Regions from separate parts of the Homo sapiens genome. Here region 1 is linked to region 2. The links are contacts of gene promoters, found by promoter capture Hi-C in blood cells and fetal thymus (Javierre and others, 2016). All regions are on one chromosome and are shown on one strand. The core of a region is centred on a gene start or on the middle of the fragment in contact, and the rest is flanking DNA. Distances in the headings are between cores, read along the strand shown. Region 1 has its middle 6.8 kb from the start of TRS-GCT4-2. Region 2 holds the start of RHOV (ras homolog family member V).

Region 1 (6,064 bases), core at 172-2,671, 290 kb after region 2:
GGTGGGAGGATCGCTTGAGCCCCGGAGGTTGAGGCTGCGGTGAGGCGTGATCGGTCCACTGCACTCCAGCCTGGGCGACACAGCGAGACTCCGTCTCAAAAAAAAAAAAAAAAAAAAAAAAGTCAAGGGAAAGAAAAAGAAATACTTCAATTAGAAACGGAAAGAGAAGCTTGTAAGAAGCTGACAGGAAAAGAGTTAGAGGCGCCATCTACTGGAGCAGCTGCAACTGCAAGACTCGGACAAGATGCTCTTATCTACAGGGATGGATGCTCTCGTCTACCGAGATGGATGCTCTCGTCTACAGAGATCTCCATTAACTCCCCAAATTCTTCAACAAACCACAGCTCAAAGAAACCGTTCTCTACCAACACCAACGTTCTTCCTTGCAAGTACTATCCTCAACTATTGCAGGACACCTCAACCTCTGGAAGACCACAGCAAAGGACTGTTGCATAAATATCTTACCAAGATATTCCAGCTCTTTTACTATTGGAGTGTTAGGCAATGCGTCTTCATTATCTGGGGCCAGCTTTAAGAGGACCAATTCCCTCTTTTGAAAATGAGGTTCTCTGGGAATCAATGGCCAATGTTTATTATGAAATAATAAACTGGTCCACAGCCCAGACAGGCTGTGTGTGTCAGCAGCAGCCCTTATATGACATAGCTCTGAAGGAAGAATTGAAATCAATGCTTTGTTTTTGTTTGTTCGGTTTGGCTTTTTTTTTTTTTTTTGACACATCTAAAGTTTATTTCTTAACTCTTGCAAGAAAAACCCAGACCTCAGGCTCCAAGACTTGCAAAGACTGGTTTTGAGAGGCAGGCAATGACAGAAGTGAAGTCAATTTGTTCCTTACCATTAGGTTCTCCCACTGGAGAACCATCTCTGGGAACACAGTGATGACAGGGTCTGGAGAGGTTCCATAGTGAATCCATGCATTCTGCTCTGAGTCTACAACACCGACCCAAAACGTTTTTCTTTTCTAAAATCATTCCCTGAGATGTACTCTATCGTGTGAAAATACTACAACAACTTCTAGGAATGTCTAGTGAACTGAAAACTAAATAACATTTTCATATTGAAGATCAGTAGAGCAAAACGGAAATCCAGTTTTAGTAACATTGTCTAGGAAAGCCAAGATGAATGAGTAAATGCCAAAGACTCAGGGAAATAGGGAATAACACTTTATGGTATATCCCAAGCTGAGGTAGTGATGGATAGTTAGCCAGTTGTTTATCTGATCGTTTTCTTTTTTCCTTTTTTTTTTTTTGTGAGACAGAGTCTCACTCTGTCACTCAGGCTGGAGTGCAGTAGCGCGACCTTGGCTCACTGCAACCTCCGCCACCCAGGTTCAAGCGATTCTCTCATCTCAGCTTCCTGAGTAGCTGGGATTACAGGTGCGCGCCACACCACACCCAGCTAATTTTTATATTTTTAGTAGAGATGGAGTTTCATCATGTTGGCTAGGCTAGTCTCAAACTCCTGACCTCAGGTGATCTGCCCCGCTCAGCCTCCCAAAGTGCTGGAATTACAGGTGTGAGCCACCGTGCCTGGTCTAGAATTCTGATTTTTAAATTATTGAATAACACAGAAACTTGACATCTGAAAAAATGTTTTGTTTTTGTTTTGATTTTTTAGCTTTAAAAAACTGAAATAGTTCCTTAATGTCAGTTTCTGGGAACTCACTGAAAGGATCACTTCCAATCAACTCTCCTTTCAATGACTGTCAGTAGTCATTTTTTATATAACCTAGGAGGTATCAGAGGTGGCCTTTATTTCAGCCCAAGATGCAAGGCTTTAAAATTCTTTTTTGAGGCCAGGTGCCATGGCTTATGCCTGTAATCCCAGCATGTTGACAGGCCAAGGCAGAAGTTCTGCTTGAGGCCAAGAGGTCGAGACCAGCCTGGGTAATACAGTGAGACCCTGTCTCTACAAAAAATGAAATTAAAATTAAAAAAATTAGCCAGGCGGCTGGGCACGGTGGTTCACGCCTGTAATCCCAGCACTTTGGGAGGCCAAGGCAGGCAGATCACCTGAGGTCAGGAGTTCGAGACCAGCCTGGCCAATGTGGCAAAAAAACCCATCTCTACTAAAAATACAAAAATTAGCCAGGCATGGTGGCATGCACCTGTAACTCCAGCTACCCAGGAGGCTGAGGCAGGAGTATCACTTAAACCCAGGAGATGGAGGTTGCAGTGAGCCGAGATTGTGCCACTGTACTCCAGCCTGGGAAACAGAGTGAGACTCTACCTCAAAAAAAAAAAAAAAAAAAATTAGCCAGGCATGGGTGTGCACACTTGTGGGCCCAGCTACTCGGGAGGCTGAGGCAGGAGGATCATTTGAACCCAGGAGTTCCAGGTTGCAGTGAGCCTTGATCATGCTACCGTACTCCAGCCTGGGTGACAGGCTGTCTCAGAAAAACCCAAAAAATTTTGCTTAAACAACAAAAATTTATTGTCTCCCAGTTCTGGAGGCTAAAGTCTGAGATCAAGGTGTCAACAGGGTTGGTTCCTTAGGAGGGGTGTGAGGGAGAATCTATTTCATATCTCTCATCTAGCTTCTGTAGTTTACTGGCAGTTTCTGGCATATCTTGGCTTATAAAATGACTAATCCTTGCAATTTTGCTTCAGTTGTGATTCTGGAAGATTTGGCATTTAGATCAGATATAAAGCTTTCCTTTTAAAATTCCTAACCTACTTTAACTTCAACATTTGGAATGTTGGAAAGAAAAAAGAACCAGAATAATTGCATCACTTATTATTTACTTGAATTACTAAAACATTTTCAAGAACCTTTTGTCTAGATGTCTTGGTAATGAAGAGATAGAAGATGCAAGTTCTTGGGCTCTTTGTGTCGGAGAGCATGCGGGGTCTAGAATTCCAAAGCCATGAACTGCTTTTAGATCCCTCAGTTCTTTTATGATGGAGAAGTTGTATTTGAATCTGCTAAGGCAAATTAAAGCAGTTAGTCATTTTTGCAAATTATTATTATTATTATTTTTGAAACGGAGTCTTGCTCTGTCGCCCAGGCTGGAGTGCACTGGCGCTATCTCAGCTCACTGCAAGCTCCACCTCCTGGGTTCATGCCATTCTCCTGCCTCAGCCTCCCTAGTAGGTGGACTACAGGCGCCCGCCACCATGCCTGGCTAATTTTTTTTTTGTATTTTTAGTAGAGACAGGCTTTTACCGTGTTAGCCAGGATGGTCTCGATCTCCTGACCTCATGATCCGCCCACCTCAGCCTCCCAAAGTGCTGGGATTATAGGTGTGAGCCACCAAGCGCCTGGCCCATTTTTGCAAATTATTAATTATTGCTTACCATTATAGTCTCCAAAATACTAGGTGTATGGTGTTATCTTTCCACCACTGGTGAAAACAACCCATGGTCTAGGCACTTTGGAGTAGCACCCACCAGCTGTGTGAAGGTCAAATGGATCTTAAAGAGTTGTGCAGTGGGACTGAAAGAGGAGAGTCACTATTTCAGAGATAACCAAATGTTAAAAAAAAGAGGTGAGATATTTTAATATTTGTTGTTTAAAAGTTTTATCTTGATAGTATTACACAATTATACAATACATACATACGTAATGTAATATGCATGTACAGTTTAAAAATAACAATAATAAGGCCAGGTGCAGTGGCTCACACATGTAATCCCAGCACTTTGGGAGGCCAAGGTTGGGGACGATCGCTTGAGGCCAGTAGTTCGAGACCAGCCTAGGTAACACAGTGAGACTCTGTCTCTACAAAATATTAAAAATTAGCCAGGTGTGGTGGTATGCACCCATATTCTCAGCTACTCAAGAGGCTCAAATGGGTGAATCACTTGAGCCCAAGAGTTCCAGACAGGCCTGGGAAACATGGCAAAACCCTGTCTCTACCAAAAATGCAAAAATTAGCTGGGTGTGCTGGTGTGTGCTGCGGTCCCAGCTACTCAGGAGGCTGAAGTGGGAGGATCACTTGAACCTGGGAGGTCGAGAGTACAGTGAGCCATGATCGTGCCACTGCAATCCAGCCTGGGCAACAGAGCAGGACCTTGTCTCCGAAAAAAAAAAGAAAGAAAGAAAGAAAGAAAAAAACAGCAATGCTGTATATACACCACCCAGCTTGAGAAATAGAACATTACCAGCCCCTTTGTTTCTTTTTTAAAAAATGATTTTTAATTATTTTAATTTTTTTTTCCTACCCTCTTGGCAGGTGGCAGATTACTAGCACCTTTGATGCTTCCTGTGTGTCCCTTCCTGGAGGCATCCTCCCACCAAAAAGATAACTACTTTGGCCGGGCACAGTGGCTCACGCCTGTAATCTCAGCACTTTGTGAGGATGAGGCAGGCAGACCACGAGGTCAGGAGTTTGAGACCAGCCTCACCAATATGGTGAAACCCTGTCTCTACTAAAAAAAAAAAAAATACAAAAAATTAGCCAGGCGTGGTGGCGGGCGCCTATAATCCCAGCTACTCGGGAGGCTGAGGCAGGAGAATCGCTTGAACCTGGGAGGCGGAGGTTGCAGTGAGCCAAGATCCCGCCACTGCACTCCAGCCAGGGAGACAGAGTGAGACTCCATTTCCAAAAAAAAAAAAGGTAACTACTTTTTGTTTGTTTGTTTGTTTGTTTGTTTGAGACGGAGTCACACTCTGTCGCCCCCGGCTGGAGTGCAGTGGCGCGATCTCGGCTCACTGCAAACTCCGCCTCCCGGGTTCATGCGATTCTCCTGCCTCAGCCTCCCGAGAAGCTGGGATTGCGGTGCATGTCACCACGCCTGGCTAATTTTTTGTATTTGTAGTAGAGACGGGGTTTCACCGTGTTAGCCAAGATGGTCTCGATCTCCTGACCTCGTGATCCACCTGCCTTGGCCTCCCAAAGTGCTGGGATTACAGGCGTGAGCCACCGTGTCTGGCAAAGATAACAACTTTTCTGAATTTCATGTTAATCATTCTCTTGTTTTTCTTACCAAATATACATATTTATACATATTTGTAGTCTTAAATATGTTTTGTCTGTTTTTTAATTTTATATAATGTATTCATTTTATATAACGTATTCATCTGTAACTTCTGTCACTGGACACTGTTTTATCCGTATAATTCGTTCATTTTCACTGCTGATTAGTTTGCAATTATCTGAACATACAATTAGGTATCCATTCTCTTATTGATGGATATTTTTGTTATCTCCAGTCTTTTGCTGCAAGAACACTGCTGTGACTGTTTTTATATGTCTCTTGGGGCACATGTACAAGTGTTTCTGTAGGTAGATAGCTAGAAGTAGAGTCATTGGTTATGTGTGTGTTCAACTTTAGTAGGCAATTCTTAACTGTTTTCACCTAGTTAATGGTTGACAAAAATGTTGCAGTTTTGAAAACGTGGACAAGCTTCAAATGAAAAGAAGAGGATGACAGAGGACTTGGAGGGGAAGAAAACAAAAATCATAATCATAGACAATATTGTTCACCATGTACAAGACAGTGTTCTAAGCAGAATGAGTGCCTTTGGTGATGATACCTCGTCAGGACCACAGTAAACTTACCCAACTAAAAACTGGTCACATTCCATGGCTGTTCTGCTTCTGTCTTTGGTTTTCAATAATCCTATGTTCTAGAATATGTGAGTCTTGAGGATCAATCATCCAAACCTCGAAAAGGCTTTGAAATCAGTCCATTTTCTCTAAAGTCTTTGGAAGCAAGATTGACTCAAGCAAGTCTAGGTCATCCGTGAAAAGATACAGACATTCAGGGAAACCCATGGTTCCAACCCTGACTGGAAACAATGCCAACTTTGAAAAATGCAGCTGCTGGACCAGCTGCATTTTCAGTTGCTGCATTCAGCTGCCTCAGCCTCTCACATGACTGGACAGAATGAAAATTGGTATAATCTTTTTGGAGGGCAGTTTCCTATTACCTATTTATATTTAAAGCCATTGACCCCATAATTACACTAAAAAACTGTCCTGTAGAAACTATGCTACAAGTGTGGAAGGGTATATAAGGATGTTTACTATGGCCTGAGAATAGTGAAAAACTGCAAACACCTAAAATTCCAGCAACAGAAGATAGATTGTAGTACAATGGA
Region 2 (5,616 bases), core at 2,776-5,275:
GCGGTGGCGGGCGCCTGTAGTCCCAGCTACTCGGGAGGCTGAGGCAGGAGAATGGCGTGAACCCGGGAAGCGGAGCTTGCAGTGAGCCGAGATTGCGTCACTGCAGTCCGCAGTCCGGCCTGGGTGACAGAGCGAGACTCCGTCTCAAAAAAAAAAAAAAAAAAAAAATGCCACTCCTTTTCCAGGAGAGCAAATACAACAGCTTTTGGGCTTTCTAGAGGAATACAAAGGCAGGACAACAGGTAAGGCCTCTTTCACTTGCTAGATGAATAAACTTATGTGGATGTGTCTGAGAAGTTTTTGAGACTTGGGGCTACAATTAGGGATTATTAGCATCCCCAGACATTCAGAGGTATGGCATGTAGGATGAAGACATTGGCATGTAGAAGTGGTTACAGGGGCTCCTACGATTTCCCCATCCCCATAGTCGAGATTTTAATGATTAAGTCATCTTTCTAGCTGTAGTCCTCTCCTTTGGGCTCAAAAAGAGAAAACAAGAAATCTCAGCACTTTGGGAGGCCAAGGAAGGTGGATTGCTTAAGCTCAGGAGTTCAAGACCAGCCAGGCCAAAATGGTGAAACCCTGTCTCTACCAAAAATATAAAAATTAGCCAGGCATGGTGTCATGCACCTGTAGTCCCAGCTACTTGGGAGGCTGAGGCAGGAGAATCGCTTGAACCTGGGAGGTGAAGGTTGCAGTGAGCTGAGGTTGAATCTGTTGATCTGGGCCACAGAGCGAGACCCTGGCAAAAAAAAAAAAAAGAAAAAGAAAAGAAAAATCAGGGAACCTGTCACTTTTTCTAAGAGATGTAAAGATTTGGTTTGGATTTATGGCTTTTTTTTTTTAGACTGAGTCTCGCTCTATCACCCAGGCTGGAGTGCAGTGGCGCGATCTCGGCTCATTTGCAACCTCTGCCTCCCAGGTTCAAGCAATTCTTGTGCCTCAGCCTCCCAAGTAGCTGGGATTACAGGCGCCACCACCACGCCCGGCTAATTTTTGTATTTTTAGTAGAGACGGGGTTTCACCATGTTGGCCAGGCTGGTCTCGAACTCCTGACCTCAAGTGATCCACCCACCTCAGCCTCCCAAAGTGCTGGGATTACAGGTGTGAGCCACCGCACCTGGACGGATTTATGGCTTTTATACTACCAGCTCTTGGAGAAATAGAATTATCTCTTTTAATATTCACTGCCCCTCCCCCTCCCAACATTCTCCTTTCCCAAAACTCGTGAATGGCTGACTCCCTGAAGGTGACGGTGTTTTCTGTGATCTTTGCATAGGCTGAGATGAAAGGGTCAGAGATCAGAGAAAGGATTCTGGGCCTGGTGTCACTTGGTGTGGTTGCAATAAAGAGACAAAATTAGCATCAGGCTACTCTTCACTTGCTCTCCAGGTGACCTTCCCAGGGCTACCTGGGAGATATTGTCTCAGTCTGCAAACTCCTTCTAGGGCAAGGGCAGTGGGTGGCCCAGAACAGCATCTGCAGATAGGTAATTATTATGTGCTTTTGATGATGATGAGATAATATTAGGTATTTGGAGATTTATAAAATATTCAAATGGAAATTGTCCTTGAAGATCCTCCCCAGCTAGCTTCTCAGCACCCTGAGTTCCTTTAGCTGAGGGGAGTGAAAGTGTTCACAGCTTGCCTTCAGGCTGAGTCTAGAGAAAGCTCTCCTCTGAAAAGGAGTACAGTACATTCCTGCCTGCTGTATTCACACTTGTGTTTCTCTGCCTCTCTCATGATCTGTATACAGCTGAGCCTTGAACAACATGGGTGTGAACTGTACAGGTCCATTTTAGGCAGAATTTTTTCAATAAAAGTTACACTGAGGGCCGTGTGTGGTGGGTCATGCCTTTAATCCCAGCACTTTGGGAGGCTGAGGCCTGAGGATCACTTGAAGCCAGGAGTTGAAGACCAGCCTGGGCAAAAAAGCAAGACTGTCTCTACAAAAAAAAAAAATTAAAAAAATGTAGCCTGGCCTGGGGGTGCATGCCTGTAATCCCAGCTACTTGGAAGGCTGGGGCGGGATTGCTTGAGGCCAGGAGTTTGGACGCTGCAGTGAGCTATGCTCGCGTCATTGCACTCCAGACTGTGCAACAGATCAAGACCACATCTCTAAAAATAGATAAAAGTTATACCAAGTGTGCCTGCCTTTCCTGCCTCCCCTTCCACCTTCTCCACCTCTGCCACCCCTGACGCAGCAAGACCAACTCCTTTTCCTCCTTCTCCTCAGCCTACCCAACTGGAGACCACAAGGGTGCAGACCTTTACGATGATTCTAACTTTCTGATACAGGTCAGAAGAAAAAAGTTTGAAAATATGATAAGCCTCCTGGGCGTGGTGGCTCATACCTGTAATCCTAGCACTTTGGGAGGCCGAGGCAGATGGATCACCTGAGGTCAAGAGTTCAAGACCAGCCTGGCCAACATGGTGAAACCTCGTCTCCACTAAAAATACAAAAATTAGCTGGGATTACAGGTGTGAGCCACCTCGCCCGGCCTTTTTTATTTTTTTATTTTTATTTTTTTTTTGAGATGGCGTCTTGCTGCGTCTCCCAGATTGGAGTACAGTGGCGCAATCTCGGCCCACTCAAGCTCCGCCTCCTGGGTTCACGCCATTCTCCTGCCTCAGCCTCCCGAGTAGCTGGGACTACAGGCGCCCACCACCATGCCCGGCTAATTTTCTGTATTTTTAGTAGAGACGGGGTTTCACCGTGTTAGCCAGGATGGTCTGGATCTCCCGACCTCGTGATGTGATCTGCCCGCCTCAGCCTCCCAAAATGCTGGGATTACAGGTGTGAGCCACTGCGCCCAGCCTATTTTTTATTTATTTATTTATTTATTTTTGAGACAAAGTCTGGCTCTGTTGCCCAGGCTGGAGTGCAATGGCATGATCTCAGCTCACTGCAACCTCCACCTCCCAGGTTCAAGCCATCCTCCCACCTCAGCCTCCGAGTAGCTGGGATTACAGATGCACACCACCATGCTTGGCTACTTTTTTTGGGGGGTTTTTTGTTTTTGTTTTTTAAGAGAGAGTCTTGCTCTGTCACCCAGGCTGGAGTGGAGTGGCCCAATCTTGGCTCACTGCAACCTCCACCTGCCAGGTCCAAGTGATTCTCCTGCCTCAGCCTCCTGAGTAGCTAGGATTACTGGCACCCGCCACCACACCTGGCTAATTTTTTGTATTTTTAATAGAGACGGGGTTTCACCATGTTGGCCAGGCTGGTCTCGAACTCCTGACCTCAGGTGATCCACCCACCTCGGCCTCCCAAAGTGCTGGGATTACAGGCGTGAGCCACGGAGCCCAGCAACAGCAGGCTATTAATAGTTAAATTTTGGGGTAGTCAAAAGTTATATAGGGATTTTCGGCTGACTGCACAGGGTTTCTCGCCCATAATTCCCGCTTTGTTCAGGGGTCAACAGGTTTTTTGTTTGTTTGTTTGTTTTTAGGATCTGTCACACATGCTGAAGTGCAATGGCACTATTATAGCTCACTGTAACCTTGAACTCCTGGGGTCAAGTGATCCTCCTGGCTTAGCCTCCCAGAACGCTGGAATTACAGGCATGAGCCACTGCTCTCAGCCTCAATATTTAAAAAAGTAATTCTTTCATTAATAAAATTATCCCAACTTTTTAATACTCATGCAAACATATGCATAGAGTTGTTTCTTGTAAGTTGAACAAGGTTTAATTTGCACACTTGTTTAACCTGAACATACTGTATTATATGTTCTGCAACTTGCTTCTTCCTCCTAACAATAAATCATGGATGTCTATCTCTTCTTGGTATTCTCATTTGACGATTCTTTGTCCTTGTACCTGCGTGACTCTTGGAGCTCCAGCTTTCTGCCTGCCTTTCCTCCTCCCGGGGTTTTCCTCCTCCTCGCCTGGCCTCGCAGGGTGCCTGGCCGCGGGAGATCTTCGCCGATGGGTGGGGTCCGGGGCCGCCTGAAACATGTAGATGAGATGGGCGGGGCCCTACACAAACCCGCTGGTAGCGCTGGGCCGACTCGCCCAGCCTGGACCCATTCAGTCAGAGGCAGCCAGCGGGACCTGCTTCACCGAGCGCAGCGAAGCCGAGACCCGGGCTGGCCCCTCTGCTGCCCCCGGAGCGGGCCATGCCGCCGCGGGAGCTGAGCGAGGCCGAGCCGCCCCCGCTCCGGGCCCCGACCCCTCCCCCGCGGCGGCGTAGCGCGCCCCCAGAGCTGGGCATCAAGTGCGTGCTGGTGGGCGACGGCGCCGTGGGCAAGAGCAGCCTCATCGTCAGCTACACCTGCAATGGGTACCCCGCGCGCTACCGGCCCACTGCGCTGGACACCTTCTCTGGTACGTACGTTCAATCGCCCGTGCGGCCGCGTGGCTGCGGCGGGGCTGTGCACCGGGGAGCTGGGGCGGGCGTCTCGGCGGGAGGGCGCAGAGGACCCCGGGGAGGAGACTGGAGCAGGCCCCGAGGTGGCGCTGGTGCGGCCCAGGACGCTCTTCCTAACTCAGGCTCTCCCCGCCCCGCCCCTGCAGTGCAAGTCCTGGTGGATGGAGCTCCGGTGCGCATTGAGCTCTGGGACACAGCGGGACAGGTGAGAAGCTGGGCGCGGCCTCTACTGGTCTGCGGGGAGATGGGCTGGAGGCTGGGAGGACCCCATATGGAGCAAATGGAGAAAGCCTTGGGCTCTTGGAGTCTCAGGTTTCCAGCCCCGGGTGAGAAATGGATTCCATGTGTCGGGGGGCTAATCCTTACCACCTGGCCTTCCCACCCCAGGAGGATTTTGACCGACTTCGTTCCCTTTGCTACCCGGATACCGATGTCTTCCTGGCGTGCTTCAGCGTGGTGCAGCCCAGCTCCTTTCAAAACATCACAGAGAAATGGCTGCCCGAGATCCGCACGCACAACCCCCAGGCGCCTGTGCTGCTGGTGGGCACCCAGGCCGACCTGAGGGACGATGTCAACGTACTAATTCAGCTGGACCAGGGGGGCCGGGAGGGCCCCGTGCCCCAACCCCAGGCTCAGGGTCTGGCCGAGAAGATCCGAGCCTGCTGCTACCTTGAGTGCTCAGCCTTGACGCAGAAGAACTTGAAGGAAGTATTTGACTCGGCTATTCTCAGTGCCATTGAGCACAAAGCCCGGCTGGAGAAGAAACTGAATGCCAAAGGTGTGCGCACCCTCTCCCGCTGCCGCTGGAAGAAGTTCTTCTGCTTCGTTTGAGCAGCTATGGCTGCATAGCAAGTAGTAGGCAGGAGGCCAAAGACTTCTGAGACCTGGGGCACCCGGGCCTTTGCGGCAGCTACTGGCAGGGCCTGGCCACCTCATAGGACTCAGTTCCCTTCTGAACACTCGGGGGACATGGGCCTCTAACTGCCCACTCTGATATGCCTGGGTGAGCCTAGGAGGGAAGGCTCTGATTTGGATTTCTCCAGTCAAAGCTCACAGAAAAAAACCTGGCACTTTGATTTTCATGGGATGGTCCTAACAGGGTCAGTCACCTCCGAGCAGTTTGGGAACCCAGTTTCTTGTCCTGGGCCCTCAGGTCAGCCTGGCTGAATTAGGACCCTTCCTTGGCACAGGGGTGAGAAAGAGCTTGGGGAACGCTTGGCATTATGGAGGGCTGGAAGGGGCTCAA

What was found. Contacts are between HindIII fragments. The CHiCAGO score rates a contact against its expected background, and 5 or more counts as called.
Region 1: a contact is called between a fragment that was not itself captured here and the fragment with the promoter of RHOV in region 2, in 1 of 17 cell types (M0 macrophages). The highest score is 5.0, in M0 macrophages.

Annotation. Positions count from the first base shown.
Region 1 is chr15:40,584,105-40,590,168 of GRCh38, reverse strand. No RefSeq gene overlaps it. Among named protein-coding and RNA genes, the nearest start is that of TRS-GCT4-2, 6.8 kb to the left of the region's middle. The HindIII fragment of the contact is 2,500 bases long and covers 172-2,671 here.
Region 2 is chr15:40,872,643-40,878,258 of GRCh38, reverse strand. RHOV (ras homolog family member V) reads left to right here and starts at 4,025. Exons shown (of 3, transcript NM_133639.4): 1 at 4,025-4,327; 2 at 4,517-4,575; 3 at 4,758-5,616. The coding sequence starts at 4,120. The coding sequence ends at 5,201. It overlaps LOC124903475 (a long non-coding RNA gene), which reads right to left and starts at 4,517. Exons shown (of 2, transcript XR_007064600.1): 1 at 4,336-4,517; 2 at 3,671-3,949. RefSeq lists a silencer at 3,971-4,490. The HindIII fragment of the contact is 13,617 bases long and covers 1-5,616 here.